6 separate regions of the Homo sapiens genome follow, and regions 2, 3, 4, 5 and 6 are each linked to region 1. Evidence: promoter capture Hi-C in human tissues and cell types (Jung and others, 2019). All regions are on one chromosome and are shown on one strand. The core of a region is centred on a gene start or on the middle of the fragment in contact, and the rest is flanking DNA. Distances in the headings are between cores, read along the strand shown. Region 1 holds the start of SFRP2 (secreted frizzled related protein 2). Region 2 overlaps LOC101927947 (a long non-coding RNA gene). Region 3 overlaps LOC101927947 (a long non-coding RNA gene). Region 4 overlaps LOC101927947 (a long non-coding RNA gene). Region 5 overlaps LOC101927947 (a long non-coding RNA gene). Region 6 overlaps LOC101927947 (a long non-coding RNA gene).

What was found. Contacts are between HindIII fragments. The study calls those that stand out against the background at their distance.
Region 2: a fragment that was not itself captured here is called in contact with the fragment with the promoter of SFRP2 in region 1 in 3 of the 25 tissues and cell types used here (mesendoderm cells, neural progenitor cells and thymus).
Region 3: a fragment that was not itself captured here is called in contact with the fragment with the promoter of SFRP2 in region 1 in 1 of the 25 tissues and cell types used here (bladder).
Region 4: a contact is called between a fragment that was not itself captured here and the fragment with the promoter of SFRP2 in region 1, in 1 of the 25 tissues and cell types used here (mesendoderm cells).
Region 5: a contact is called between a fragment that was not itself captured here and the fragment with the promoter of SFRP2 in region 1, in 1 of the 25 tissues and cell types used here (thymus).
Region 6: a fragment that was not itself captured here is called in contact with the fragment with the promoter of SFRP2 in region 1 in 1 of the 25 tissues and cell types used here (H1 embryonic stem cells).

What each region holds. Positions count from the first base shown.
Region 1 is chr4:153,786,833-153,791,922 of GRCh38, forward strand. SFRP2 (secreted frizzled related protein 2) reads right to left here and starts at 2,251. Exons shown (of 3, transcript NM_003013.3): 1 at 1,502-2,251. The coding sequence starts at 2,003. RefSeq lists enhancers at 2,395-2,564, 2,479-3,180, 3,181-3,882, 4,144-4,313. The HindIII fragment of the contact is 9,313 bases long and covers 1-5,090 here.
Region 2 is chr4:154,187,848-154,192,937 of GRCh38, forward strand. The region is part of intron 10 of LOC101927947 (a long non-coding RNA gene); the gene reads left to right. Among named protein-coding and RNA genes, the nearest start is that of DCHS2, 300 kb to the right of the region's middle. RefSeq lists a silencer at 1,596-1,796. The HindIII fragment of the contact is 4,243 bases long and covers 115-4,357 here.
Region 3 is chr4:154,161,600-154,166,689 of GRCh38, forward strand. The region is part of intron 10 of LOC101927947 (a long non-coding RNA gene); the gene reads left to right. Among named protein-coding and RNA genes, the nearest start is that of DCHS2, 330 kb to the right of the region's middle. The HindIII fragment of the contact is 3,975 bases long and covers 977-4,951 here.
Region 4 is chr4:154,138,102-154,143,191 of GRCh38, forward strand. LOC101927947 (a long non-coding RNA gene) reads left to right here. Exons shown (of 15, transcript XR_007058336.1): 10 at 4,015-4,141. Among named protein-coding and RNA genes, the nearest start is that of DCHS2, 350 kb to the right of the region's middle. The HindIII fragment of the contact is 3,059 bases long and covers 414-3,472 here.
Region 5 is chr4:154,102,981-154,108,070 of GRCh38, forward strand. The region is part of intron 9 of LOC101927947 (a long non-coding RNA gene); the gene reads left to right. Among named protein-coding and RNA genes, the nearest start is that of SFRP2, 320 kb to the left of the region's middle. The HindIII fragment of the contact is 4,768 bases long and covers 512-5,090 here.
Region 6 is chr4:154,082,553-154,087,642 of GRCh38, forward strand. All of the region lies in intron 9 of LOC101927947 (a long non-coding RNA gene), which reads left to right. Among named protein-coding and RNA genes, the nearest start is that of SFRP2, 300 kb to the left of the region's middle. The HindIII fragment of the contact is 4,955 bases long and covers 698-5,090 here.

The DNA of each region.
Region 1 (5,090 bases), core at 1,001-3,500:
AAGAGTTTGATTTCTTGGGAGAAGTAAAAAAAAAAAAAAAAGAACAATTATATTGCCCTTCTCTCATTTATAAATGTGTTAATTATGTCTTTAAAATTTAGGTGAAATGAGATTTTCACTAATGTGAAATTTAATGTTCATAGAAAACTATGTGACTTAATAGAAGCGTTATTTATCAAATTAGAAAAATCACAAAGCTGGAATTTTGAAGAACATAAACTTTTATTTTGAAGGAGAAAAGTGGCTTTTTGGAGAAATGTAAGATGCGTAATGTTGCTGCTGATAGTGGGAAGAAATAAAAGCAACATACATAAAACTGCCCTTAAGTCCCCTCACCCAAACAAAATCAAACATTTCCAATTAGGAGCTCTCAGGATGTATATAAAATATTACTAACCTGTATTGGTTGGTCTATGGTACATGTTGGACAAATGTTTGAAAAATGCCAAACATTTGCAATAAATTAGAAATCTAACCAATAAGATGATTGCAAACTCATGGTCCCTGCCAGGAAAGATTGCTAAAGAACTTTGCATTTGCTTTAACTAATGATGTCTGTAGGAAAACTACTAGAGATTGAAAGGGAGAGGCTGCTGAAGCCCTGAAAGGGATTAGGAAGCTCCCTTTTCCAACCCAGGGGACCCAAATCAGCTCAGAGGCATTGTATATGTTTTCCTTTCAGAAAAAATATTGAGAGCCCATGAGGTTTTCATTGCTTTGATGGTTTTTGCACAGGAACTCTCCCTCCGTTTTCTAAAAACTTGGGAATCTCTTTTGCATGATTTTCTCCAGCTAATCAAAACCACTCCTAAGTTAAAAACTGATAGCAATAGAAAAGTGATTTCCAGAGATTCCCTTTATGCCCTCTTCCTCAAGTATCTGAGCAGTTACAACCAATGTTCAATTTTCCACACACTCCGTGCCAGTCCCGGTTTTATTTCCAAAATCTAAATTGACAAAGGACAAAAAGACCCTTAAAAGGTTATCTACTTGTGCATCCTGGTTTTCCTTTCTGTACAGGAAATGTTCCTGTGACTAGAATCCTGCCCAGTGGTAGGAAGGTGCAGAATGAGGCTGAGCGAGGGGCCTCTGGCCAGAATGCTCACCACAAACTCCTCCACCAAACACCACTTCCAACGCTCTGCGCAGCTCCAGTGCTAGCATCTTTAACAATAATCGTGTATCTATTTTTTTTTAAACCGCCGTTCAGTTCTTCGTTTTTTTAGTTTTGTTGTTTTTGTTTGTTTGTTTTATTTTTAAACTGCCCTTAAGTATAGCTGGTACAACTCGGGAGGAGAATGCGCGAGACTTGGGCGGCGTGGGAGGGGTGCCTCAAATTTGATACAGGCTTGTTGTGATGACAGACCAGGTCAGGCAGAACTTCTGCCCTTCCCGCTACTGGCACCCCAAGCAGGGATGCACTGGGATGCGTGGCAGGGGCGGGATCTCCTGGGAGCGTCTCAGCCCAGCAGGGAGTGGGGAAGCAAGAGGGAAGGCTTACCTTCCTCGGTGGCTGGCAGGAGGTGGTCGCTGCTAGCGAGGGGGATGCAAAGGTCGTTGTCCTGGGGGAAACGGTCGCACTCAAGCATGTCGGGCCAGGGGAAGCCGAAGGCGGACATGACCGGGGCGCAGCGGTCCTTCACCTGCACGCAGAGCGAGTGGCATGGCTGGATGGTCTCGTCTAGGTCATCGAGGCAGACGGGGGCGAAGAGCGAGCACAGGAACTTCTTGGTGTCCGGGTGGCACTGCTTCATGACCAGCGGGATCCAAGCGCCGGCCTGCTCCAGCACCTCCTTCATGGTCTCGTGGCCCAGCAGGTTGGGCAGCCGCATGTTCTGGTATTCGATGCCGTGGCACAGCTGCAGGTTGGCAGGGATGGGCTTGCAATTGCTGCGCTTGTAGGAGAAGTCGGGCTGGCCAAAGAGGAAGAGCCCGCGCGCCGAGCCCAGGCAGCAGTGCGAGGCGAGGAAGAGCAGCAGCAGCGAGCCAGGGCCCTGCAGCATCGTGGGCGCGCGACCCCGAGGGGGCAGAGGGAGCGGAGCCGGGGAAGGGCGAGGCGGCCGGAGTTCGAGCTTGTCCCGGGCCCGCTCTCTTCGCTGGGTGCGACTCGGGGCCCCGAAAAGCTGGCAGCCGGCGGCTGGGGCGCGGAGAAGCGGGACACCGGGAGGACAGCGCGGGCGAGGCGCTGCAAGCCCGCGCGCAGCTCCGGGGGGCTCCGACCCGGGGGAGCAGAATGAGCCGTTGCTGGGGCACAGCCAGAGTTTTCTTGGCCTTTTTTATGCAAATCTGGAGGGTGGGGGGAGCAAGGGAGGAGCCAATGAAGGGTAATCCGAGGAGGGCTGGTCACTACTTTCTGGGTCTGGTTTTGCGTTGAGAATGCCCCTCACGCGCTTGCTGGAAGGGAATTCTGGCTGCGCCCCCTCCCCTAGATGCCGCCGCTCGCCCGCCCTAGGATTTCTTTAAACAACAAACAGAGAAGCCTGGCCGCTGCGCCCCCACAGTGAGCGAGCAGGGCGCGGGCTGCGGGAGTGGGGGGCACGCAGGGCACCCCGCGAGCGGCCTCGCGACCAGGTACTGGCGGGAACGCGCCTAGCCCCGCGTGCCGCCGGGGCCCGGGCTTGTTTTGCCCCAGTCCGAAGTTTCTGCTGGGTTGCCAGGCATGAGTGGGAGAGGGTGTGTGTGTGTGTGTGTGTGTGTGTGTGTGTGTGTGTGTGTGTGTTGGGGGGCTGCGTCCCTGGTAGCCGCGTGTGCCCTGTGATGGAGCCCGGGACCTGCCCGCCCGAGGCCGCCTCGGCGAACTTCGTTTTCCCTCGAATCTCCAGCCACCGTTCAGCAGCCTGTCGGTGTGCTCCCCAATGCCGTAAAAAAATCAGAATTATAAATATATTCGTATGAGCAGAACTTTACATGGAAAACGAAATACTAATAAAATGGGCTTGTTATTCTGTTGGAGTGAGTGCCTAGGAAGGGTTTCGTCGTTGTAGAAACGCCCCTACAAGAGTCTCACCAGTCACACAGGACTGCCCACCATTTCCCCGTTTTGGAGAGATTTTTCCTTCTTAAATGAATGGCATGACTCAATACTCGAAGGCATCACGGGCTCTAACACACAGCCGCCCTTGCAGCTGTGCGCTCTGGAAAGCTGGAGTATGGGCCCCCAGGGCACTGTTTGTAAAGACTGGTGGCCGGCACAAAAGACGGGCACAAAAGATGGGCAGGCTGGGAGGGAGCGAGGTAGAGGAAGGAGTCCTGCCTAGAGATCCACGAGGGCTAGAATTAGCTCATTCATCCCCTACGTACCAGGGGGCACCATGCTGGGCGCTGGATGTGCAGAAATGAACAAACAGGCCGGCCTCTGCTCTCGTGGAGCCTGGGATCTAGTGTCTCTGACTGCAAACAGTAAGTTCTGGGTTGGGGGGTGGGCTCCTTTTGCCTAATTGTCCCTAGTCTCCCTATGGGGACAGGAGGCCTTCGCTCTCCTCAGCCGCTGTCTCCGGGTGGCTGTGAAGATCCAAAGAGATAATCCCCGGAGGGCGAAGTTCTTTCATATGTAAGGTGGGCGCATTGTTATTACTTCCCGACCACTTAAGAGTCATTCACAGGCTCAGACCCCGGCTTCCTAATTTCCCTCCTTCCGGAAGATGCGTTGGCCTTGGCGGCTCCCAGGCCCAAGTTATCAGGCACACTTTGCGGTCCAGCTGCTTAGAGGAGCCGGGTAATGAATGAATGGGTGGCAAAAGCCCACTCAGTGTTATCTGCTGACCGTAAACACGCCAGGAAAATCGTCATCTGGAGAGAATGCACATTCTGAACTCCAAGAATCTGCGTCCCTAAGAGCCCAGCTTCCGGGTGCTCTGCTGGGGAAGGGCCCGGGGTAGCTGCAAAAGGCCTCTCTTTCCCCAAATTGGTTCAGGGCCTTTTCGTCTCTAACGAAAGCACCAAGAGGCCTAAAAGCCCCCTTCCCAACATAAACTACTTTGCAATGAAACCACAAAGGAAACAGAAGCACACCAAAAGAAAGAGCTAATAAAGAGCGTGAGCTCTGAGAGATGCTACGACTTGGGCCTGGGAGTGGGATAAGGGCCCTCTCGCTTTCACGCCCCCCCAACCCCCCGCCGGCCCCGGCCAACCCCTAAATCCCCAACGCCCTCCGCTGGGGTCGCCTCCTCCCCGCAGAGCCCCTTGTTGGGAGTTCAAGGAGCCCGAAGCTGGTCTGGCTGGTTTGAGCCCCGCGCTGCCGCACGCCCGGAAGTGGCTGGCGGCCCCCGCGCTCCGCGCGCCGGCTGCATTGTTTTGGGAGCCCTCGCTGCCCGGCTTGCCGCCAGGAGGTGCTGGGAGTCGCGCCTGAGTCTCCATCCCTGCCGTGCGCAGTGTCCACCTCTGGCCAGCTTGTTTGCCCGGCCCGCGGCGTCCCCTGCGGCCCATCGCTGCTCCTCCCGGAACCCACGCCACTTAGTCTGGTCCCGACCCTGCACTCGCTGCTGCTGCCTTTCCCACCTCAAGTCGCTCTCCCCACTCCCTTCTGCTTTTGGGCTAAGACCGGTCCAATTGATCACTGGGGAACAGGGCAATAACCTCCCGCGGAGGCTGGGACGCGGGCACGGAGCTCTGCCCATATGAGCAGCGCAGGGATGGGACACTGGGTGCCCATCCCAGCGCGCCTCCCCAGACTGGTCCCTGGGATGCTCACACGTGGCGCGGCACCGCGGCGGCGCCTTCACGAACCCAGACTCTTCTCTGCTGCCAGTTGACCTCAGGTCCACAGGTCTCCTTCGATCCTTGCAATTGATCAAAACCCACCAAAGGCTTTTATTTGTACCAATGGACCGTCCATGTTTACCCCCTCCCTGCCCATTTAAGGCACGGAAAATCTATTCACCCAAGCCCAGGGTAAGTGATGGTGGATGCCCACTCCACCGGGCATCTTGCTTAAAGGGGGCTGCCCATAGGTCCCTGGAGAGGGGCTTGGTCCAGAACACACACAGAATGAACATCATCCCACCCCAATGCTGCAGGTCTACGGAAGAGCCTCGACCTCCCGTATCCTGGGTTTGGCTCTGCTTCTCTGCTTGAGTGTTTCCTGTGCTCAG
Region 2 (5,090 bases), core at 986-3,485, 400 kb after region 1:
ACAAAATGTCAGCACCTTGATCATGGCCTCCTCTGACTCCAGAAATGCAAAAAATTAATTTCTATTCTTTATAAATTACCCAGTCTCAGGATTTTGTGATAGCAGCAAAAGCAACCTACGGCAATCATAGTCCATTTTTAATCCGTATCATACTACAGTTTTCATCTGTACCCAGTCTCTTTGGTTTCCGATCCTTGGCCCAGTTTTCCATTTATAATATGTAGTTTGTACTAGTTTCTCAAACTCATTTCCTCACCTTCATCCCAAGGACTAACTTCTGGCTTTCACCGTTCTCTGTGGCTCCTGTGCACCTCTTTGACTTCCTTGCTCTCAAACCTCTCTGGCAACACCTTCTGCCATTCCAACTCCCCACCAGGCCTTATTTCCAAGACCAAGACCCAGAAGTTAGCTAACAGCTCTTGTTAACCTCACTCCTACCCCAAAAGCACCAAGGAAAAGGTCAATGTCCCTTTGAAAACAAGGCTACAGGGTATTGTATTCCCTATCCATACTTTAATATCTCAAGGACTAGACTCGCGTGTTAAATGTAGGCATCTACACACCTGACTGGCATAACCATATCTGTTGTAGTTCTGAGGCAGTAATGAGTAAACACACACACCCCAGAAAACTACTCCTGCGCCTCCACACTTACGTATGTGTGTGTGTTCATGCTAGTGCGTGACTCTATCTAGACCTCTACATTTGGTGTTTATTAATTTTTAAGATATTTTAATTAGAAAACAACACATGTGTTCTACGCTATTTTCATTTGTTGATAAATTCTTTAATTCTTAACCAATTCTATTCAAGCTTAGCAAAGAAGAACAAAGATACATTCTGTATTCTTAAAACCCCATCTGTTTTCTCATGTATCAAAATAGAAGAGAATAAGAAGAGGAAAACCTCACCTGGACTATGCCGTTTTTCCCATGAGATGATCTTGGAGGTCACATTCTTTTCACCATTATTTCCAAGTTGCCCTCTGAGGGCAGAAGCATAATGCAGTTGAGCTCCAAAGCTAATTTGAGCAAAACTATTTATAGTCTGAATAAAATATTTTTATAGACTTAAGTAGCATTAAAATCAACAGCAAAACAGCTGTATTTTTGTGAGAAATAAGAAGTGAGTCTACAGAACTGTATCGTGGATGCTCTTTACTACCTTTTAAAATTAGCACATTTTCACCATTAGCACTACTACATTCTTTCTTAGACGACCAGCCCCACATTTCAGCTCTGCCTCTTCACTAGGGAGCACATGAGGGGGATGCCAAAGAGAGATAATTGCAAAAACATGGCGCTTTATGCTTCAGTTGCCAGCTTTTCCCACCCCAAATAATACACTGGAATCTCAAGTCATGTGTAATTCTTTCTGAAGAAAGCATAGAACTATTTTGAAGGAAAATGCATAAAGAAAAAGTGATTTGTTTGAAGGGAGAAAAATGCTACTTTTTCCCGTTGTCAGGATTATCAAACTGTTTGTTTTTAACTGCTTTTATCCCCGTGTGAGATAAAGAGAAGTCAAAATGAATTCATTAAAGTCACGTGAGCTTATTTTTCAGGAGATGGGTATTAATATTTTATTTTAGAGTCTCTGTCATTCAATCTGACAGGTGTGGCCAGGCAGGGTTGCTGAAACCAACTCATCCCCACTCTGGTCTCATTTCCTCTCCTTGGATAACAGTCACAGAAGCCACATGCCAATGTGCTGAGAGTCACATTTTCCATCAGCAGCATTTTGCTATTTGGAAAGTCCTTAAGCAGTTGTGCCGGCTGCCTTGGAGTTACCTGCAATATGGCTCATGTGTTCCTCACAGACCGCCTGGGAAGCTTTGTTAGTCTCAGAGGCATTTATTAAATGTTTAAAACAAAGGCAAGTTACCTTTGTCTGTCAAATCTGTTTTTGAACATGGTCTTGAGTTACTCTGCGTTTCAGGATAGTGCAATAATTCTGTGACGATAAATGAGAATTGGATTTGAAAACGAAGCACCAGTTGTTCCTACTACTGTCCTTTTCTGCAGAAGGAGATCTGTGTTGTGTAATTCAGCTTTCATATGTGCCTCTTCTGGCACCTGTTTTTGCATGAGGATATAGAGTACACAGAAATTTATTGTTTGCCTAGAAATTTCTTATGTTCACAAGTTGATTGCTGCTCAATCTGTGGCTCAATGGATGACTATGAAGTGTAAAAATAGTTAAAAACATTTCTAAACATTTAGTTTCATTGTTTTGTTTCATTAGTTCAATGTTCACAGCAATAAATGGTTCTTAAAACATCTCTGAAAAGTCCAGTGGAAAACAGAAAATATGAAGGAGGAAATGACCCTTTCTAGCAGAGGGTAGGTGCAGAAGCTCAAACCTCCCTTTCTTTTCCTGATTCCATTCGTCAGTGCTCTGCAGAAGTGGCCCCTAGAGAAAAGTTTCTCTACACATGTCTTGGTGATAGTGTGGAAGCTCAGCTAAGGTACACCCAATCTTCAAAGTCCTGAGTAAAATAATGAGAATCTCTTCACCACTTGGCTAAAAATTTATTCTCCAGGAAGAATCTAAACATTGGGAAAACAAATTAATTAACAGCAGACAATGAAACATCCCCCAGGTTGGTACTTCGTTACTGAAATCAGTCCCCGAGCCATCCTGAAGACTCTGGAAGGGATAAACAGGGGACTGGTTCAAATTTCTACCGTTTCTGGCATGATCTCCCACAAACCTATCAAGGAATTTCCCTTTAATCAAGTGTTCACATAAAAGACAACAAATAAAAAATCTTAAAGAAAATTAGAAAGGGAAAAATTTACAAAGAATTATCAAGAATGTTTGGTGTATTATTGGTAAGATGCATTACCTGTGTGGGAAGTAGGACTTACCAGAGAGAACCTATTGATCAGTTCTATTTATCCAATAGCTGTGACTGCTCAAAATGCTGAGGTACCACCCCAGCCACCTGCAACAAAGTCTGAGGCCAGAGGTGGCCAAATTGCCCAAGTGTGCAGTGATTTCAATGTACTAGGTACATTGCATTGTACCTGGGACAGTGGAATGTAGAGAAGACCTCTATTAGACATGCCCTCTATCTTTCCTAATTCAGCAGTGATTTTATGAATTAGATAATTGATTTTCCTCTGCAGATGTTTGCAAGTTTTAAGCAATTAGTCTCAATATTTGCATGAACCTTTATTTATCTTAGAGGAAGGTAATTTGGTGCTATCTGTCTTTGAAATTGTTTTCTAGTCCTTTTCCACTTGTTTCCCTAGGCACCGACTGAAGACAAAAGAAACTTCTCCAGTGGATGAAGTTGTCCGCTGGCATCCACAGCAATGATGTCCTTGCTTCCCAAAGTGTACACATTGTTTGCTAGTGAGTGAGCTGACTGGGTTGTGCCATCTTTCCTGCCCCCACACATGAAGACACATTCCTTTTGCTCTCTAAATAACCTTGAAACAGGCTAAGCTTTCCAGAGCTCATTTATAGAAATCCTCGATTTATGCAAACACAGTATCATGCAAAAGAATTAAAAAGGAGAAACAGAATTTGAAATAGTAGTGCAAGGGAAGAGCTCAATGAGGACCACCCTGGAGATGGAGAAAAGATCCAAAGTCTGTTTCCAATTATGAGCTTCTAGGAGGAGAATGAGTTATATTTAAAGTAGTTCCAAACCAGGTGAGGATGGAGAGGTCATCTGTGTTGAAGAGGGGTGGGGCAGCATGGCTGGTGGCAAGTTGTGACCCTTGTTTATAACTAAAATTAGATAAGTTTGCATACAAACAAAAAACAATGTGCCTTTGGATATAGTGTCTACAGTTGGGCAGACAGAATGGGGAAATAGAGAAAGGCTTCACTTAGGATGGAGAGAGGGTCAGACCGGTGTTATTAAAACATTTGGAGTGGGAAATCCTGGCTTTGTGTCTGAGCTCTGCCAGGTTGTAGGTACTTTGGGTAATCCATTTCAACTCTGTGGGTCACAGCTTAGTTATCTTTCAGTGGTGGTATTAGCCAGTGATTCTCAAACTTTTTGATCTAAGGATGGCTTAACACTCTTAAAAACTGTTGAGACTCCAAAGAGTTTTTGTTTCTGTGGAATCTATGTGTTGATAATTATATTAGAAATTAAAATGATGAATTTAAATAAAAATATGTATTAATTTATTTATAATAACAGTAATAAGCACTTTTCATATTAACATAAGATATATTTAAGAAAATTAACTATATTTTCCAGAACAAAAAACAGTTTGGTGAAAATGAGAGACAGGACTAGCTGGATTTCCTAGGCCGACTAAGAATTCCTAAGCCTGGTTGGGGAAGGTGACCACACTCACCTTTAAACAGGGGCTTGTAACTCAGCTCACACCTGACCAATCAGGTAGTAAAGAGGGCTCACTAAAATACCAATTAGGCTAAAATCAGGAGGTAAAGAAATAGTCAAATCATCTATCATCTGAGAGCATGGGGTGAGGGATGATGATTGGGATATAAACCCCAGGCATTCAAGCCGGGAGTGGGCAAACCTCTTTGGGTTCCCTCCCATTGTATGGGATCTCTGTTTTCACTCTATTAAATCTTGCAACTGCACACTCTTCTGGTCCGTGAATGTTCCGGCTCGAGCTGAGCTTTTGCTCATCATCCACTGCTGTTCACCATCGTGGCAGACCCGCCATTGACTTCTACCCCTCCAGATCCGACAGGGTGTCCACTGCGTTTCTGATCCAGCAAGGCGCCCATTGCCCATTGCCCATTGCCGCTCCCGTTTGGGCTAGAGGCTCGCCATTGTTCCTGCATGGCTAAGTGCCCGGGTTCATCCTAATCGAGCTGAACACTAGTGGCTGGGTTCCACTGTTCTCTTCCGTGACCCACAGCTACTAATAGAGCTATAACACTCACTGCATGGCCCAAGGTTCCATTCCTTGGAATCTGTAAGGCCAAGAACCCCAGGTCAGAGAACAAAAGGCTTGCTGCCATGTTGGGAGTGGCCGCCACCATCTTGGGAGTGGCCCACCGCCATCTTGGGAGCTCTAAGAACAAAGACCCACCCAATAACAAAAAGATTAATGTTGGTTTGCATTTTTGCAAATCTCTGTAATGCAGCT
Region 3 (5,090 bases), core at 1,714-4,213, 380 kb after region 1:
TCCCCAAAGTTTTTATCTTATGGTTATTTTAAAAGGATTAAACACCTATACATATACACAAGTCCCCAAACCTTACCTGAAACTGTTAGAGTGTCCTATTAATTCCCACTTAAAATAACTTTTCCCCTATTCTTTTTTTTTGGTGTAGGGGAAGGAGAGGTGGCAAGAGATTGAATGTTTAAGTTTCTCTAAGCCGTGTGCTGTTGCTCACCATATTAAGAGCATGTGTGCATTACTTCATAAACTATCAGATGACATGCAACTTTATTTATACTCAGTAAAAAAGAATAATGAGTTACGTAAAGTTATTTCTGACACCGGGCAAAATAACTCTGCAAAAAGGCACCATTCATGGGGGTCAGCCCAGCCTGGCTCAGGGGCCATCATCCACTAGCTCCAAACAAATTTAAGAAAGAATTACAGCTGTGGACACCATGTCACATGCCAAGGGTAATATGTACAAGTCATGATCAAGCATAATAACGAAAGCCCTTATGCCCTCTATTCTATTCCTCTCTGCAGATTAAGGGCCTCCAGGGTCAGGACCAACTGCCTAGGGAAGGCTTAGGAAGTCTGAGTTTGTGTATTCTCCAAATTTATGAAAGACAACATCACAGTGGCCATCAGTCTGGGGTTTGAAAATATCTAAACTGAAAAAGCTGAGATTTAGCCAAAGTATGAAGTACAATGGATCTCCTTATAATCTTTTTTGTTTGTTTGTTTATTTTGTTTTTTGCTTAATGACAACCTAGATGTAAGTCAAGAGGTAATTAAGTGAACACTTAAGTTTAGCTGATAAGGAGGGGCAAATACTGAGGTTCCTTTGTGGGATGTCATACCTTTGTATTTTTCTCAACCATCCTAAGAGAAACATAGAGTGTGTTTCTGCCAGGATCCGGGACCATCAGCATGTCAATTCTTCTGATCTGCAAATGTCTAATTTCTCTTAGCAGAAATGGTGTTTACGGGGAAAATATCATGTGTACAGCTAGTTGTTGCTTAGTTAAAATGAATTCTGGGAAACATACTTGGGGCTCCTAGGTATCATAAATACCTTATAAAGTAGCCCCAGAGTAGGCTTGCTAATTTAGAAATTTTGGAAATAAAAAGATTGAGATCTTGGAAAACTCCCACTTCATGTGATATCAGCAGGTTAAGTATGTGCTGTTAACTGCTGATAATTGGCATTTCATTACTGATGGAACTACTACAAACTGCCTACTGGGAGGGTGTGTAGAAACACCATGACCAAATCTAGCATGCACCAGTACTTATTTTTCCCTGAGCTCTATTAAGATGATTTATTACTAAATATTAAGATGATTTATTACTATTAAGATGATTTATTACTAAATAAAGGCACTAATTTCATGGGCTCATATGAACTTAAATTCACGTGTGTATGTGTCTCTCTGTGTGTGTATTTCTTTCTCTGTGTGTGTGTGTGTGTGTAACTAGAGAAAATTAAGCAAAGACATTTGATTAGCAAGTACAAAGAGGGAAAGAGGGAAGTTTAGTTTCTCCCAGTAAAATGATTATTTTTAAAGTTTCTGTACAATCAATAGGAAAAGAGGATGCGGGTGAAAGGGGAAAGTCACAGGTATTTATATCTAAATAGCTCTGTAGGTTTTAGAGAAGGTTAAAGAAGGTAAGGGTGGTGATGTGTTTATTGGAGGTGGGAAGGTGGAAGTTGGAGGAGTGTACATCAATGGGCCCTTTTTTGTTTAGTGTCCTGGGAAATGTGGCCATTTCTGAAAGTCACGTGAGTCAAATGGAAGAGATAATTTGAGAGCTCTGATATTGCTGGTATACAGGAAATAAGAAATAGGATGAGAATAAAAATATTGAGCTGTAATGAAGGCCCATGTGAGAGTGGAAATGACAAATGTACACTAGTGGCTAATTGTTACAATGTTGTCATTTTATTCAACTGAGCTCAACATGTCAGGAGCAGAAAAAATGAATGTGATAGGATTAAGTAAGGTGTATTAGTCTGTTCTCTCATTGCTATAAAGAAATACCCGAGACTGAGTAATTTGTAAAGAAACAAGGTTTAATTGGCTCACAATTCTGCAACTGTACAGGAAACATGATTCTGGCATTTGCTTGGCTTCTGGGGAGACCTCAGGAAACTTACAATCATGGTGGAAGGTGAAGGAGAGGCAAGCCTGTCTTACGTGGCAGAAACAGGAGGAAGAGAAAGCGGGAAATTCCTGGTTTCCCAGAAAGTCTCTGGCTCTAAATCATATTCAGTTTCAGCAGAATAGTTGTGTCTAACCTTTCCCACGCTGCTGCTACACACTTTTAAACAACCAGATCTCTTGAGAACTCACTCACCATACAGTACCAAGGGGAGCTGGTGCTAAGCCATTCATGAGAACTCCACCACCATGATCAAATCCCCTCCCGTGAGGCTCCTCCACCAGGGCTGAGAATTACAATTCAACATGAGATTTGGGTGGGAACAGAGATACAAACCACATCAGAAGGATTTGCTGGACCCAACACCCAGGAATCAGGAAGGTGGGAGACAAAGATGTTGCAAAGACATGGCTGAAATTATTGACTGTATGGTCCAAGCTGGGTGAGAAAATTGAAACCAAGAGGAATTTGAGAGGGTATAGGGAGGCATGATGAGAGTGGAAATGTCACAGTACAGACATAGTTAGAGTGTGAGAAGTGGAAGAATTAGAAGTAGAGATTGGAGAGTGAAATTTTGCTAAGAGAATATGCTAGGGTCTGAATGTTTGTGTCCCCTCAAAATTCGTGTGCTGAAAACCTAATCATCAAGGTGATGATATTAGAGGATGGGGTTCTTGGGAGGTGATTAGATCACGAGGGTGGGGCCTTCATGAATGGGGTTAGTGTCCTGACGAAAGAGGCCCCAGAGAGTTCCCTTGCTCCCTTTCACCATGTGAGGACACAGCTAAAAGGCATGACCTATGAGGCAAAAAGCAGGCCAATGGCAAACACGGAAACTGCTGGCACCTTAATCTTGGACATTATAGCCTCCAGAACTGTAAGAAATATTTCTCTTATTTACAACCTACCCAGTGTATAGTATTTTGTCATAGCAGTCTGAACTGACTTTGACAGACAATTCCTGGTAGTGGCTGGTATCTGGACTGTGGCCCTGGGAGTGGACTGATGTGTAAGAATGAAGGCAAAGTTCGATGATCTGTGAGGCTGGGAAGATACCCAAATCAACACATACATCGCCTCATGTAGGATACATTAAGACTCTGGTTGAAGAGAAAGTCTACATCAATTTAGACCACTTGGCCTCTGAAAAGATGTTGCCCTTGTTGATTTTCTGTGTATATATATATATTGCTGAGTCTTTGGTTGATAATGCTTTTTTTTTTTTTAATTCTCAAGAGTCAAAAAGTCCCCACAGAGAAGACCCACTTGCTAATCCTGAGCAGACCATGCAATGGAAGCATCTTGAGGCAGAGTGGTGAAGCTGAAAGCCCTGGACTAGGAACTGGAGCTGTAGAGTCCTGCTGTGGTTCTGCTGTTGACTTACTTGTTTAAATCAGAGATGAAATAACAACCTCTCTGGGCCTCTTATCTGTGAAATGAGAGGTTTGGCTAATGTGGTTTCCCAGGAATTTTCTGGCTCTAAGTTACATTCAATTTCAGCAGAATATTTGTTTCTAACCTTTCCCATGCTGCTGCTGAGTTGGCCTAATTGCTAGCCCTCCACTGATTTCATTCTGCCCCACCCCACCCTCAGATGACTCCTTCTTTCCACTTAGAGATAACAGCACCAATTAACTCAGGATAATTTCCCTCACTGCCAAAACTATTTCCAAAATGCAAACTTGTGGCTGCTGATTCATGCTGCTAGAGAAGCACTGTTTCTTTCTGACTGGCTTCACGTGTGTTGCCACTACAGGAAGAGACCAAGTCACTGGTAAAAAGCTAGGGTAACCAGGAGAAATGGCCCCTTCAGATGACACTGTGAGAGTCAACAAGGTAAGAAAGAGGAAGCTTTAAAATCACCACCATCATCATTTTTGAAATGTGGAAAGTTAGTTATGCATGGTGCTTGCCCTTGGGTACCTTAAAATTGAAAACATATAAGCAAAACACCATATATGGCCTGGCACAGTGACTCATGCCTATAAATCCCAGCACTTTGGAAGGTGGAGGTGGGTGGATGGCTTGAGCCCAGGAGTTTCAGATCAGCTTGTGCAATATGGTGAAAGCCTGTATCTGCCAAAAAAAAAAAAAAAAAAGAAAAGAAATACACAAAAATTAGCTGGGTGCAGTAGTGCATACCTGTAGTCCCAGCTACTCAGAAGGCTGAGGCAAGAAGAACGCTTGAGCCCAGGAGTTTGAGGATGCAGTGAGCCATGATTGCACCACTGCACTCCAGCCTAGGTGGCAGATCAAGACCCTGTCTCAAAAGAAAAAAAAAATATCAAAAACCAACAAAAACCAAAAACCATATAAACATCATCTTGTAAAGTAAATAAATATATAAGTGATTTAGGAGTCAACACATATTACTCAAGAGCACCCTATTGAGGCCCCAAGTCTCATTGACAAGATCTAATTGGAGTTTATATCTGTAAGGCCAACACTATGAGAATGAATGGGGTGATGAGCAGAAAAATAGTAGGGCTGGGGAGGGGACACAAAGAGAGACATTCTCAGCACAATGCCCAAAGGAGCTCCTTCTTTTACATGGCTAGATGACAAGAGGAAGTGATGAAGTCATAAAAGGAGTCAATGAGAGAGAAAGAAATGGGTGAGCGAAGTTCCTCAGTATCAAATAAAATGTAGTTCAAAGGAGGAGAGGCTGGTGTGAAGAGGAAAATGACAAAGGTGAGTCAAAAAAGCTAGGCCTGGAATAGGTTTTTGGAATTATCCATTATGAGGTCATTGACAACTTTGTCATAGGAGTTTCTGTGGAATTACAGGGCAGGATCCAGACAACATTAATTTACATAGCAAATGTTTGGAATGAAAGTGATGTTTCTAAGTCGAGACTATTCTTTCAGAAAAATTAACAGCAAAGTTTGGTACTCAAGGGGATAATAAAAACAAGGGAAAAATTTTGAGGAGGAATAAACCTTGGCCTG
Region 4 (5,090 bases), core at 693-3,192, 350 kb after region 1:
TTCTCCCCGCACAAGCTATTCACCACGCCACTGCTCCGTCTCATCTCTGCTCCTTGCATCTTGCTCCCCGCCACGTTATGCACATTTGGGGCCTTTTTAAAGTTATAAAACTAAGGTAACTTTATTTTAGAAGTTTTCAAATTACAGAAAAGCACAAAGCAGGAGGTAAAAATCCATAATATCACCATCCCTAGGATCACAGGGTTAACTACTATTTTATGTTCTTCTAATCTTTAATCTACACTTGGGGATCTATTTTTTATAAGCTAAAGATCATAAATATATCATTAATACAAATATATTAAATTCTTATAATTTGTAAAAGTCCCATATTGTTAAACACACTTTGAAAATGTATGTTTTTATACATATTCCATATTATGAAAGGTGATGATCCATCTTACAAAGGGTAATAATTAACAAAGAACTTTGTGATATGTTTAGGTTTTAGCAAAATGTCTTTAATTCTTTATTAAATAGTCAAGCTCATGGGGAAGGAAATCGTAAAACTGTAAAAATATTAAACACAGGAGCTTGTATTGAGCAATATATAACATTTTAGGATGATGCATCTCTTAAAGAAGGTTTGATAATGTTGCATTTTCATTGAAATTAACTCATAGAAATGTGAAACATTATCATTTTTCATTCCAGCCATTGTTTTGTAATTTCTATTACCTAAAGTGTAAATTAACCTTGAGGTTAATTTAGGTTAGAGGTCTGTATTGCATAATAGAGAAAAACCAACAAGTCTTATTATTTCTAGGAGAATTTAGTATCTTTTTTCCCTCAAATGTCAGAATCTTAGGGAACAATGAGGGAACATATTTTGCTAGCAAAAAGTGTATTTGCTTTGAGATTTTTTTCCCCTTTGGCTTAACATATCTGGCAACAAGCATCTTACACGAATTTATTTTCTTAAAGGGAAACTCACACTTCTGTAACAAATACATGTTTTTCTTCTGGAAGAGGAGCTTTCTTGCTACTGCCCATAGTATGTATGGGTATAGCCAGCCACTTGTCTAAGACAAAGCTTATTGTACAAACTATATGTTTAGAAAACATACTTTGACTCTTCATGGTATCTCAGTATCTCAACCATGACTATAAACAAGAATCACCTGGAAAGCCTGTTAAAATGTCCCAGGCCTTACATTCCAACTCATTATTGGGGTGGAGAATAGGAGGCAGGGGTCCTCATTTTTAAGAAGCCACACAGGGGATTCTAATGTCCGAGGGCCACACTTTGAGAAACACTGCCCTGCTGAATAAAAGCCCAACTCCTTAGCATGGGATCCAAGTCCCTCCTTAATCTCATTCCTATCAGGCCCATCTCCCAACACTAGACCCAGCCATTCTTTGTCACACTGATGGCTCATTCTTCCCTAACACAGCATTCTACTCCATGCCTTCATCCCTTTGGTCAAGTAGTGTAGCTGTCTTTTCCTTTCTGGTCTTAAGAACAAGTAATTCTTGTTCTTAAGAATTTTCCTGCTAATTGGTGCATATCATCCTATTGTGTGCCTAGTGGTTTCCTAGTGCTGTTCTAAGCAATATATATGTGTGTGTGTAAATATGTATATTTATATAAAAATAAATTTGCTTATATATAAACTTATAATTTATATAAAATTATATAAATAACCTATAAATCATACATAATTTCCATATAAATGTATAATATATAATTATATTATATAAAATATATATTATATATAATTTACATATGAGAATTTATATAATATAATTTATATGTTCACATATATTATGTATAAATGTATATGTTAATATATGTAATTATATACAATTTTAAAATATATAATATAAAACAATATTATATAAAAATTATACTATATACATTATAAATTTATTTATATATCTTTATAAATATTAAGTATTAAAATATTGATAAATTAAAATATTAAACATTAAATATTTATGTAGAAATTTATATATAAATATATATACACATACACATATAAAAATTTATTTCATCCTTCCCACCTCTCTATTAATATATTATCATTCCTATATTGCAGCTTAATAAACTATGGCTGAATTAAATGAGTAAAGAGATGAATGAATATTATGAATATTTGTTCAATGTAAAAACAGCTGGAGTAGTGGAGGGGAACAGACCCCACATCCTAGGCCTGAGACTCGGGGGACATGGGAAATGACTGTTCACATTTCATAGGAATACGAAGATAATGGGTGCTATGGTCTGCATGCGTGTTCCCCAAAATTCATGTGTTGAAATCCTCATCCACAAATTGATGATATTAAGAGATGGGGCCTTTTTGGGACATGATTGGGTCATGGGAGGAGACCCGCCCTAAATGGAATGAGTGTCCTTATAAAAGAAGCAGGAAGTGTTTGTGTCTTCCACCACAAGGACACAGTGACAAGGTGCCATCTGCGAACCAGGAAGTGAGTCCTCACTAGACACTGAGTATGCTGGCATCTTAATCTTGGACTTCTAAGCTTCCAAAACTGTGAATAAATTTCTGTTGTTTATAAGCCATCCTATTTATGGTATTTGTCCAAAAGAACTGTGATAACGGGATGCTGATCATTCAGAATTTGAAAGAAAAGTATTTTAAAAACATCTGTCTCAATTTTTTGTACATATTATGTTGAAATTACAGCATAGCAATGCAAATCTTTTTATAATTTTTCACACCTACTCAAAAATATGCTATGGAGACCTTCATTTATGGGCATAAAATATGCTGCTTCCTAAGGCTGTCCTGCAGGGGAGGCTTTTCTTCTGGCCCTGTACTGCTCTTTAGTCAAGCCTCTCTGTGTGCCTCTCAGTTCCTCAGACACATCATTTTCTCTCTACCTCAGAGCCCTGACACGTGTGGGCCTCCTGTGTAGAGGCTTTCTTCTTGCTTAGTTTCAACTTGTCTTGCAAAGCCCAGATCAGATGGCCCCACCCCTAACATTTTTAGGGCTGGAAGCAAGAATGCAAATGGAAACACATGCTATAGACAGAATTTAGACTTCTCAGATTCCATGCAGTTTCACATGGGAGTGCTGTGGTGTAAGAACAGGGACTCCTGACTTGTGGCCGAAGCCTCATCTTTCTACTTTCCCCATCCTTGGCTCCTCTCATCATGAAAGGAAGAGCTTGTGAATATCCCAGTGTGTACGTCAAAATCCACACATACACACATTGCAAGCAAACTCTCTTGGTCATCACCCTGAAGCCTTGGGGTGTACCTATTTGTCTTAGTTCCCACTGGCATGATAGACCCAGGGAAGAGGCTTGAGGTGCTTTCAGTAATTCAGAGGTACAGGGCACCCCGAGCCTGGTCTAGAATGGAGGTGTGGGCTTCTTTGAAGTGCTGGTTGTGGTGACTCTTGCCTGGGGCCATGGGTGGCACTAAGCTCAAACATCCATTTCTCCAAGTTTAATCTTCCAGATAAACTTTCATACTTCTCTTTGAAGTACTTAATAAGGAGAACTCATTCAAAGTTTAATGAGTTATTGTTCAAACTGGTGGTATAAGGTCTGACTCCATTGCAAAAAAATCATTTCACAAGGGCGGAGCTGAATCTTGTCTTGTTCACTTCTGTTTTTTCTGTTGTCCAAAACAGTGTCTGGCAAACAAATGGTGCTCATCATATATTTGTTGAATGGATTAATGAAAGTCCGCTGAGACTTCTAGAAATAGTTTGGGTCTCTCAAAAATATTTTTAAAACTCTGCTTGGCTTTTTCTTATATATCTGCATTATTATCAACATTAGCAGCTTTACAGACTAAAAGTTTAAATATCACAGAAGATTTTCTAGCACTTTGGATCTAAAGATAAAGTCCTCAGTGGGAACTGCAGGGATAAAGGATTTAGGTAAGATTCCCAGGCACAGGCCCATACAAATATGTGTGGTGTAAATCCTATAACAGAATACCAATATTATATACAGAACCTTTTCTTTGTGGCAAATTACAAAGTTAGCATTAAAAAAATCAAACTGGAGGTGAAAAAAATAACATCTATCCTTCACAGGACTGCGTGCAATTCTACTTGGAGATCTTCATAACACCTTAAGGGAAAAATCCTTTTTGAAAGAAAAACAAGTCTGGGTGGTGCTTGAAAATTCAGAAGGCAGCTAGAAACTCTGCCAATTACAACTGTAAGTAATAACACAGTATTAAATTTTATTTTCCATTTTTAAGACTGGATTTTTTAAAAGCAGCAGGTATGTGGAGTGATATTTCTAACAGATGTTTTGAAAAAAAATTAATAGTTTTATTTATCTTGGTTGGTATGAAAACTTTGACCTTCAAGGGTAAGGTTTTGATTCACTGAGAGATGGAATCCTTATGGACAGAGGCCTGAATGCCTCAGTTTTGGGTTTTAGTTATTTTCAAAGTTTTTGTCCTCTTTTTCCACCTTATTGATTAGTGGGCAAAAATTATCATCTAAATTTGAAATTCTGTTCTCACTTAAAGCTTATTCTGTAATTCTGAATAATCTAGAAAAGATAATATTGTCTATATATCGGTCTTCTCGCAAAAAACACTGAGAGATGACAAGGCCACTTCAGCCAGAAGCCACTGTATCTGGCCACAATTACTATCCTTATTTATTGAAAACTGTATTACAAGCCATGGAAATTCAAAGTGCTACAGAAACAAACACTCTTCCTTTAGAACCTGCTCAATTTCCCAGGAGCTTAACAGAACTCTATCTTATATTCTCTCTGGGAAAGATAAAATAGCAAACAACAAAACTCAAGGTCTAAAAATAAAACCAGTTAAATCAACTCACGGTGTAGCAGAACACTGCCACTCATCTGGTCACCTCTATAAGACTCACCTGTTTAACCCTGTAACCCAGAGTTTCTCAGCATTGGCACAGTCAACACTTTGGGCTGGTAAACCTCATTTAACTTCTCTTCTTTAACTCCTACTTTTTGTCATTGTGATAAATATGCGCAACATAGAATTGATCATTTTAACAATTTTTGAGTGACAGTTCAGTGGCTTTAAGTACACTTATATTGTTGTGCAACCATCACCGCCATCTAGCTCCAGAAATTTCTCATCTTCCCCAACTGAAACTCCATGCCATTAAATAAT
Region 5 (5,090 bases), core at 1,646-4,145, 320 kb after region 1:
ACTTACAACCAAATATGTCCCTGAGGTTTTCTAATTCTGAAGTCAGTGAGTACTCTTTCACCACACGATTGGCTCCCAAATGTATCCTGGGAGATACTACTTTTATTACTCTATTGAATTACTTTCCCAGAATCTCAATCCTTACAGGATGCTAGAAAGATAGCGCCAAGTGTCTTCTTAAATTATTATTATTATACTTTAAGCTCTAGGGTACATGTGCACAATGTTCAGGTTTGTTACATATATATATACATGTGCCATGTTGGTGTGCTGCACCCATTAACTCATCATTTACATTCGGTATATCTCCTAATGCTATCCCTCCCCTCTCCCCCAACCCCATGACCAGCCATGGTGTGTGATGTTCCCCTTCCTGTGTCCAAGTGTTCTCATTGTTCAATTCCCACCTATGAATGAGAGCATGTGGTGTTTGGTTTTTTGTCCTTGCGATAGTTTGTTGAGAATGATGGTTTCTAGCTTCATCCATGTCCCTACAAAGGACATGAACTCATCCTTTTTTATGGCTGCATAGTATTCCATGGTGTATATGTGCCACATATTCTTAATCCAGTCTATCATTGATGGACATTTGGGTTGGTTCCAAGTCTTTGCTATTGTGAATGGTGCCAAAATAATCATACGTGTGCATGTGTCTTTATAGCAGCATGATTTATAATCCTTTGGGTATATACCCAGTAATGGGATTGCTGGGTCAAATGGTATTTCTAGTTCTAGATCCTTGAGGAATCACCACACTGTCTTCCACAATGGTTGAACTAGTTTACAGCCCACCAACAGTGTAAAAGTGTTCCTATTTCTCCACATCCTCTCCAGCACCTGTTGTTTCCTGACTTTTTAATGATCGCCATTCTAACTGTTGTGAGATAGTATCTCATTGTGGTTTTGATTTGCATTTCTCTGATGGCCAGTGATGATGAGCATTTTTTCATGTATCTGTTGGCTGCGTAAATGTCTTCTTTTGAGAAGTGTCTGTTCATATCCTTTGCCCACTTTTTGATGGGGTTGTTTGATTTTTTCTTGTAAATTTGTTTAAGTTCTTTGTAGATTCTGGATATTAGCCCTTTGTCAGATGGGTAGATTGCAAAAATTTTCTCCCATTCTGTAGGTTGCCTATTTACTCTGATGGTAGTTTCTTTTGCTGTGCAGAAGCTCTTTAGTTTAGTCAGATCCCATTTGTCAATTTTGGCTTCTGTTGCCATTGCTTTTGGTGTTTTAGACATGAAGTCCTTGCCCATGCCTGTGTCCTGAATGGTATTGCCTAGGTTTTCTTCTAGGGTTTTTATGGTTTTAGGTCTAACATTTAAGTCTTTAATCCATCTTGAATTAACTTTTGTATAAGGTGTAAGGAAGGGATCCAGTTTCAGCTTTCTACATATGGCTAGCCAGTTTTCCCAGCACCATTTGTTGAATAAGGAATCCTTTTCCCGTTTCTTGTTTTTGTCAGGTTTGTCAAAGATCAGATGGTTGTAGATGTGTGGTATTATTTCTGAGGGCTCTGTTCTGTTCCATTGGTCTATATCTCTGTTTTGGTACCAGTACCATGCTGTTTTGGTTACTGTAGCCTTGTAGTATAGTTTGAAGTCAGGTAGTGTGATGCCTCCAGCTTTGTTCTTTTGGCTTAGGATTGTTTTGGCAATGCAGGCTCTTTTTTGATTCCATATGACCTTTAAACCACTGCTCGATGAAATAAAAGAGGACACAAACAAATGGAAGAACATTCCATGCTCATGGATAGGAAGAATCAATATGATCAAAATGGCCATACTGCCTAAGGTAATTTATAGATTCAATGCCATCCCCATCAAGTTATCAATGACTTTCTTCACAGAATTCTAAGTGTCTTTTTTTAAACATGCCAACCAAGCATTGTTTTAGTAAAACAATAAAGATGTCTCCTAGAGTGGTAGAATTCTACTGAATCAAGTAGCAAACCATTTGCTAGTTTGTTAAATGGAGTATCTTGTTAAATGGACTACCATGAAGTAGAATATTTTAGGTAGATTATGCACAATTATTTATGGTAGATTATGCACAAATATTTATGCATAATCATAAATATCTCCCTAAAATATTCAAGAGTTTAATCAGTTTTTCCCAGGACCAGTGTTCACTTTTGATATCCAGAGTTTTAGGTAGATTAAGCACAAATATTTATGAGATTTTCATGATACCAAGGTATATTATTCTTAATCTTTCAGAATATTTATTATGCATATGTTATACAAGATATACCCTTTAAGGTCTTGTGGGAAAATAGTTTGAAAAAATAGAGTCAGATCAATAGCCAAAGTGATATTACTGAGGGCAGAAGATTATCCAACTAACAGAAACCAACTATAGTGGTCCCATGCCAGAGTGGGAAGACAACATTAGCTTTAGGGACTGCAGGTTTAGGACTGCCTTTTAGTTTCAAGTGACAAAAATCTAACACAAGCTAGCTTTAACTCAATAATGGGAATTTATAGGCTCATAAAACCAAACTCAGGACAAAGGATAATACTGGCCTCGGGAATGACAATGCTGGTGGCCCTTGATGCTCTCAAGGCTCCCTCTCTCCATTTCTGTCTGGCATCTGCTTTTCGTCTGTGCTGACTTCACTCTCTTACCTCTGCATCATCTTTGGCACGTGATGGGCAACAGGAATCCCTCAAGTCAACCCAACAACTCTGCCACCAGGAGAGTAAAGAAGTTCTGTCCCATTAATCTTAGGTGGAAAAATTTCAGGGCAGATCTTAGTTAGGGTCAGTTGCAACTGACCATCACTGACCATCAATTGTCATCCTGGCTTCCACGTCTGAGAACAGGAGGATACACTAACTGGGCTAGCCCTGGTCTTCTGAACTCTCATGAGGCCAAAGGGATAGATTATGTTACCAGAGAAATGCACAGAAGCTGGGCAGAAATAGACAAAAGCCACTGCAAGGATAAAATCCTTACCTTCTATCACTTTTTGTCTCTCGTCTCTTAGTTGTATGGTTTTACATGTTGCATATGGATTCTCATATAGGCCAGTTAAACTTAGGTTAATCTGACTTGGACTTGAGTTACATTTTCATTAGTTTAGGACCAGATTGTGAAACAGAGTTTATGTGGGAAGTAATTTACAGATGGCCTGACATTGGTTTTGTGAGCCTGTTTACTGTGTCTAAACCTGAGAAATAGCATGGGTGTTTTTCCTCCTTTAATTTAATTTTAGCTGTGATTTGATACATTAGGTGTGTCAAGAAACACATTGAAAGTCTCAGTTCAAAATAAATTTGTTTCTAAGAATGTCCCATTTTCTCTCAAAATGCTATGAGAAAAATTCAATAAAACCTCTTTCATATCCTTAAATGAAGAGACCAATAGTAATTTAAATGGATTTTAATCGTATTTATGGTTTTTAATGTTTATGCTGTAAGTATATTTATTAATATACATATGGGTTAAATTTCTTTATGGCCTTGAAACTAGTTTTAAAAGTCATTAAATACACCAAAAATTATTTAGCTGGTAAAATTTTCCCTTGGCTTTGTTTAAAGAATCAGTCTACCCTCAGATAAATAAATATATATTGAGCATTCAATAGTCCTGAACTCTGAACTAGGAGCAGTAGCAGACAAAGCAAAAGGCTTCAACGAGTTTACTATGTAGTTAAGGAGACAGGTCAAAGGCTTGAAATAAGAGAGAAATATGCATGGCCTTGTATCACATGTACATAAGCCAGCAATAAGATGAAAGGCATTCAAGAGCATGATCAGCTGCACAGGCTTCAAGGCACTAGTTAGGCAGGGAGAACATTGCAATCAAATAATAATGACATTACTTTTCAGTCATTCTCACATTCCTGCTGACTTATGCCAGCTTAAATCCCCATTTGTGTTTGTAGCACACATATTTATACTAAGGTGGTGCAAGGTGATGTGACAAACAAACCCTAAATTATATAATGGCTTAGACATAATAAAGCTTAATATGGGTGTTCATGATTGCCACTTAGTGACTCAGAAACTCAGGCTTCTTCTGCCTTATGGCTCTGCCATCTTCAAAACAGCTTCCAAAAGGATGCTTTGCTCATCGGAGCCAATCCAGAGGAAGGAGGGAACACCAGGAAAGAGCATCCATTGCAGGTTTTTATGAGCCAAGCCTGGAAGTGGCACATATTCCTTCTGTTCACATTCTGATGAGTAGAAGTCAGGTCCATGGCTTTGTCTAACTGGCTAAGAAATGTCACCTAGGTGTGGGCCAAGGATGAAGAGACAGGTTAGGTGAATAGTTAGCCATAACATCCGTGAACATCAAATTCAAGAAACAAAAAGAGAGGGGGGACAAAGTACTACTTGACATGTGTTTGTTGATGACTCACCCACCATCATTTAATAAACTTGTACTCTGAATCTTATTAATTTTGTAATCTGAATCTTATTAATTTTGTAATCTGAATCTTCTTAATTTCTCCACTGCCAGACAGTGATTTGTGGAATGGGTTCAAAGACAGATGAACATTATTTAGATATGCTCCGCTTGTACACATGTACATATGCACAGCTAGGGAAGCATGACAGTAAAGCCTCATCACACCCTCATGCAGAAGCCTGTGTGGTATAAGATTGTGTGTTTGTGTGTATATGAGTTAAGTGGATGGGTGCATGCGTATCTCCACAAATAATACACATATATATGAAACCTTGCTATTATGAATGTTTCTCAAATTAAGTGGATACAAATTTTAATATTCCCAGTGGAAACATAAATAATAACTTTTCAAAACTTGTTCTTTCATTTACACAAGGTAATTTTAGCATTTTGGTTGAATGGAAATACCCTGTTTTGGAGATGCTGGTTATTATGGGTTAAATTGTGTTCCTCATGATGATATCTTAAAATCTTAACCCCTTATACCTGTGAATGTGACCTTATTTGGAGATAGGGTCTTTGTAGATATAATTGGGTTAATATGAGGTCATACTGGATTACGGCGAGGACTAACCCAATGACTAGTGTCTTTAGACATTAGACTTAGAGGATGTTTGGACTCAGGGAAACACAGAGCACTCACTTTGTGAATCCTCCTCACAAAGCAGAGGACA
Region 6 (5,090 bases), core at 1,925-4,424, 300 kb after region 1:
GAAGGCAGAGATCAAGTCTTGCTCACCTTTGAATCTGCATAGCATTGCATGAAAAGCCTTGTGGAAAACTCTCCATGAATAGTGAAGACAGAAAAGGAAAAAGGGGAAGAGTGGGTGAGGAAAGAAGAGCAAGGAAAGCAGAAAGGAAGGAAAGGAAACCATACAGGAAGGTGGAAGGATGGCAGAAAGGTGGTATAACACAAAAATGGGAACCCAACTCATTTCTCCAGAATTATGCTCTCTGACTATCAAGGTAAAGCCAAAACAGCCAGGAAGAACAGGGGCCCAACCTGCCATCTTATTAGGCGCTGCATAGACAGATCTTTCTTGTTTACTGCCCTGCCCAGCTCCTCATTCTGCAAAATGCTTTTACTGCCCCCAGTGGCTGTCATACAGTACTGAGGAGTAGCTTGGGCTTCTCTCTCTGAGTTAGAGGCCTGGGGACCTCTCCTGGGAGCCCACTCAGCACTGCATTGCATGATGTCAATCTTAGCAAGCTGGGCTATTCTGGAATAGCAGCCGCAGGCCCTCTGACTGCAGTCATTGTGTTCCTGCTATGTGCAGACTCTTGTAAGTCTTAAGGGTAGAAAGACATACAGGAGACTCCTTCACCCTCAAAAGGTATAGTGGCACCATCCAGGGTCCATGAGACAAGTAGAGGGATATTTACAGAGCATCACGTCAACCCAAATGGGTGAATTAGGAAGGTCAAGTGAAGCAGTATCAGGCAAGTGAAGTGCAGAGTGCAGATGGGAGTAGTCACGAGGGATGACTCAGAAGGACTGGCGAGATTTTTTAGTTATATTTGTGGTCAGAAGACTGAACCAGGTAGCTTGGAAAATATATTAGAAAGCAATCAATCAGTGTCAAGCACTGTCCTCAGGAATGTGGGCTTCTGGGTCCTCTGAGGATGCTTTATTGCTGATGGAATAAAAACTCTTATATAAGGATATGTTCAAGGTTCAGTGTGGATGTTTTGTGTTTTATTTTTTTTAGTCTGGCAAAGTCCACCAATAATGGTACACAGTAGAATTAAAGGGGAATTGGAAATTCTCTTCCTAGAACCCAGATTATACATATTGATGGGTATGCTGATTTGCATCTATTCCTATTTATTCATTTACCATCTCTGCTGGTAAGCTGATGGTGTGCCCAGCATGTCAGAGGATTCATTGATCCTGCCTCAAGTAAAACAGACTAATGCATATTTATTTTGCCATTTTCATTATTAAGTGAAATGCCAGAAAACATTTCAATATAACCTCTAGAGAAAACAAACCACTTTCCTGAAACCAGCTCTGTCTCTTCATCAAACGGAATGAAATATTTGGAAATGCTTCATTTCTTCCAGGCCAAAGGCACATCCATTCTCCTCATGCTGTTTCAAAGCTCTGATGAATGGAGTTCCTGTCCTGGCTCTCCTTCAGGAAGTCGTTGATCTCCAGAACCCAATAAATAATGGGAAAAAGAATGAATGGCATATATATGCATTGAGAAAGGACTTAAACTTTCACAATTTTTCTTTTTTGGTGTAGTCTCACAGGTACTCTTTTATTGATGAAAGCAACAAAAGATGGCTCCATTTGTTTCTGTGTTAATTATAAAACTGACAAGCTAGCTCAACAGCACATGAGAAGTATGTTTAACAAATCATATTAAAGAAAAAACAGAGCCAGAAACTGGGCCAGTTTGACCATTAGTTTAGGAAATAACACAGGACTGTTCCTAGGAAGAACCAAGAGGCCTAGACATAGCCTGTTAACTAGAGATGAAGGAGCTTCCATTGTCTCAACCACTTATTCATTCAAAAGCTGTATCCTAAGGACTGCCTCTAGATTCTGGGAATAAAAGAGTGAATAACATTAAAAATACCTAGTGCTAGAGACACAATAAATCAGACAAACTAACAGGGTAGGGACTTACCTGTAGGTCTTGCTGCCTGCCAATCTCACAATATTCTGCATACAATAAGAGCACAATGACTGTAGTTAGGGGGCCAGCGGCTGCTGCTCCAGGGCCCCAGCTTGCTGGGGTTGGGGCTTGTGTAGCACTGAGTGGGCTCTTCCAAGTGGAGGTTTCCAGGGCCTCTATCGAAGAGAGAGAAGCCCAAGCGACTCCTCTAGCATTGTGCGGAAGCCATGGGGGACAGTAAAGTCATTTACAGACTCAGAAGCCAAATAAACAATGGTAAAATATAAGGTATGCTAGATGGGGCGGAGAAGAAAAATAAAGTATGGAAGGGGACTAGGAAATGTTAAGGGGATGCACAATTTGAGACACTTTTATTAGAACAAAAGAAATCTCTGCCATCTGTCAACAAAGAAGACTCGGAAATATCATGAAAGCATGAAGACTTATTAAGCACCTAGTCAACAGTGAGACCCAAACTACACCTATGTAGTTGACATTCTATGCATTCAGCAGGAGCAGGATGAAGGTTACTGAGTCAGAAGTCCTGGCCCAGGCTGTCAGTTCTGGCCAGGTGAACTTGGGTGAATCATCTAACCTCTCTGAGCCACTGATTCATCATCTGCATAAGGGAGAAAGCATCTTCATAGTCCACTGCACAGGGTTATAGAGAAAACCTAATAAATATTGAATTTGGAAATTTTTTGCTGAAATCAGAGCACTGAGAGTGTGCTTGGGAAACACATATTGCCAGGGATTTCTTCCAAGAACTTCTGGTTCAGTAGATCAGAGAGAGAGACAGAGTCTAATCCAGCAGTTCTCAATGTTGGATGAACATTAGGATCACCTGAGAAGTTCCCAAAAAATACAGATGCCAAAGGCCCACACCAGACTAACTAAATCAGGATTTCTGGGGCACAGGCATAGGTACTTTTTAAAAAAGCTCTCCAGGCTATTCAAATGTGTAGACAGTTTGATAATCAACAGTCTAGTGAAGTCCATGTTACTGTGAATGATTAAAATTACAAAAAATTACAAGCTGCTAAAAGGTCTCAACCACCTTTATCTGAAATATTAGAAGAGTGGAACACCCACACTTCATGTATATTAAGTGCCAGGTAGTTCCAGGGTGGAAAGTGGCTTTCCAAGTAGCAGATAGACGCTTAAACATCTCCAAGTATGCAAGAATCTCCTATTTTGTGGGCATTTTCCTCCTCCTAGAGGCTTGGGCTCCCTCTCCCCATTATTTAATCACCCCATGATGAGGAACCCATCCTTTAGACATCCTAAGTCCCGATTGCCTCAGCATGATGGTGCAGCACCATAGTAAATGGGCACGCCATGTGAGCATCTAGATGTAAAGATTGAGTCAAGTAGTAGCACAAGGATGCAACTTTAATAGCACGTTTCCTTACTTTTCATTATCTTTTATTGGAAATAGAAATAAACAAAGTGAAATGTATCAGTGCTGAAAACAATCGTGTATTAAAGTATCTATGAAGCATCAAGTGCAACTTTCTGAAGGAAGATAGGCATAGCCTACTGTCTACAATACTGACCAAAAAGGCTTATTTGCCAGCAGGAATATTTCTTAAAAAAAAAAAAAAAAAAGACAAAGGAAAGATGATAAAACTGGGTCAGATGATTGTGTAAAGTTTTCTACTTAGATGCAAACATCAAATGATAAAATTTCCTCTTTCCCTGTGTAAACCTTTCAGTGTCTTGAAATTATCCCGGATCATTTTCTCTTTATTTCATTTATTTTATAATTTTGCCAGATACTTTTGTATGGGAAAATGGGACGCTTTGGCAGGAAGGAAAAAGGAGTACTGATATCAGGTTCCTGTACTGGGGAGCAGTTTCTGTGAGTTGTGGAGCTGAGGTGGGAGCTGGGAGGAGCTAGAAGCCTGTGTTGTCTTAAGCTCTGTTAAAGGCTATACTAGGTAGTCACGAAGCCGTTTCCCAAAGGTTTTTTTTCTGATTCACCACAATGTAAATAAAACCCCCAAAGCTCAAACAGTTATCTACTGAGATCAGGTTATCCCTGGATTCCTTTACACATCCCAATGTAACATCTTTCAACACTTGAATCCATTTTTTAACTGTCTTGTTTTCCTATAGTAACTATTGCATTAAATTACCATGCAGGAGAAAGATTTTAATCTTGGCTTCTCAGTTTTGTGAAAGCTTGTTTTATAACCCCGGATCAGCCCTGTTTCTACATTTTAAAAAGTGAGATAAGAAACATCTCATCCTTTGCAAAGAAGGGCAAGTCTTCCATTTGGTTGTTTGAGGGTGGTTAAAAAGGTCCCTCACAGCACATTTCAATAAAATATGTATAAATGGAAATAGCTGATTTCTATTTTTCAGAAAAACAACAACAACAACAACAACAAAACCCGGCTGGGCGTGCTGGCTCACACCTGTAATCCCAGCACTTTGGGAGGCCGAGGCGGGCGGATAACCTGAGGTCAGGAGTTCGAAACCAGCCTGGCCAACATGGCGAAACCCCGCTTCTACTAAAAATACAAATATTAGCTGGGTGCAGCGGTGGGTGCCTGTAATCCCAGTGGCTCGGGAGGCTGAGGCAGGAGAATCACTTGAACTCAGGTGGCAGAGGTTGAAGTGAGCCGAGATTGCACCATTGCACTCCATCCTGAACGACAGAGCAAGACTGCGTCTAAAAAAAAAATAAATTAAAAAACAAACAAACAAACAAACAAAAAACCCATTGTATTTAGAAAGAGAATATTTTGTTAAAATTTTGAGGCTAAATTTTATTGTTTAGAATATCTTTTTAAAGTGTCCTATGGAGCTTATACTGTAAACTATGCCACTTGCATTCAGTCATCTTTCCATGTAGTAATTTTGGTCTTATGCTACTGTTACTTAAAAGCTATTCAAATTATTATGTTGTGACTCTATATTTCTCCATTTTTGACTGTTGTCCTGTTATTCTTACTCATTTAGAAGCTCCAAAGAAGATTGTTCCCAGCATATAAGCACACATGAACATATTGTGTTACATTTCTCTTTGCTTATTTTCTTCCCACCTTCTACCCATTCAAAAAAATCAGTCAAGAATGACTCAGAGATACCTGAATGGAGTTTGCAGTTCTGCATTAAAATTGAAGCCAAAATTAAGAACACTCTCTGAAGGACTGATTTCAGAAGAAATAATT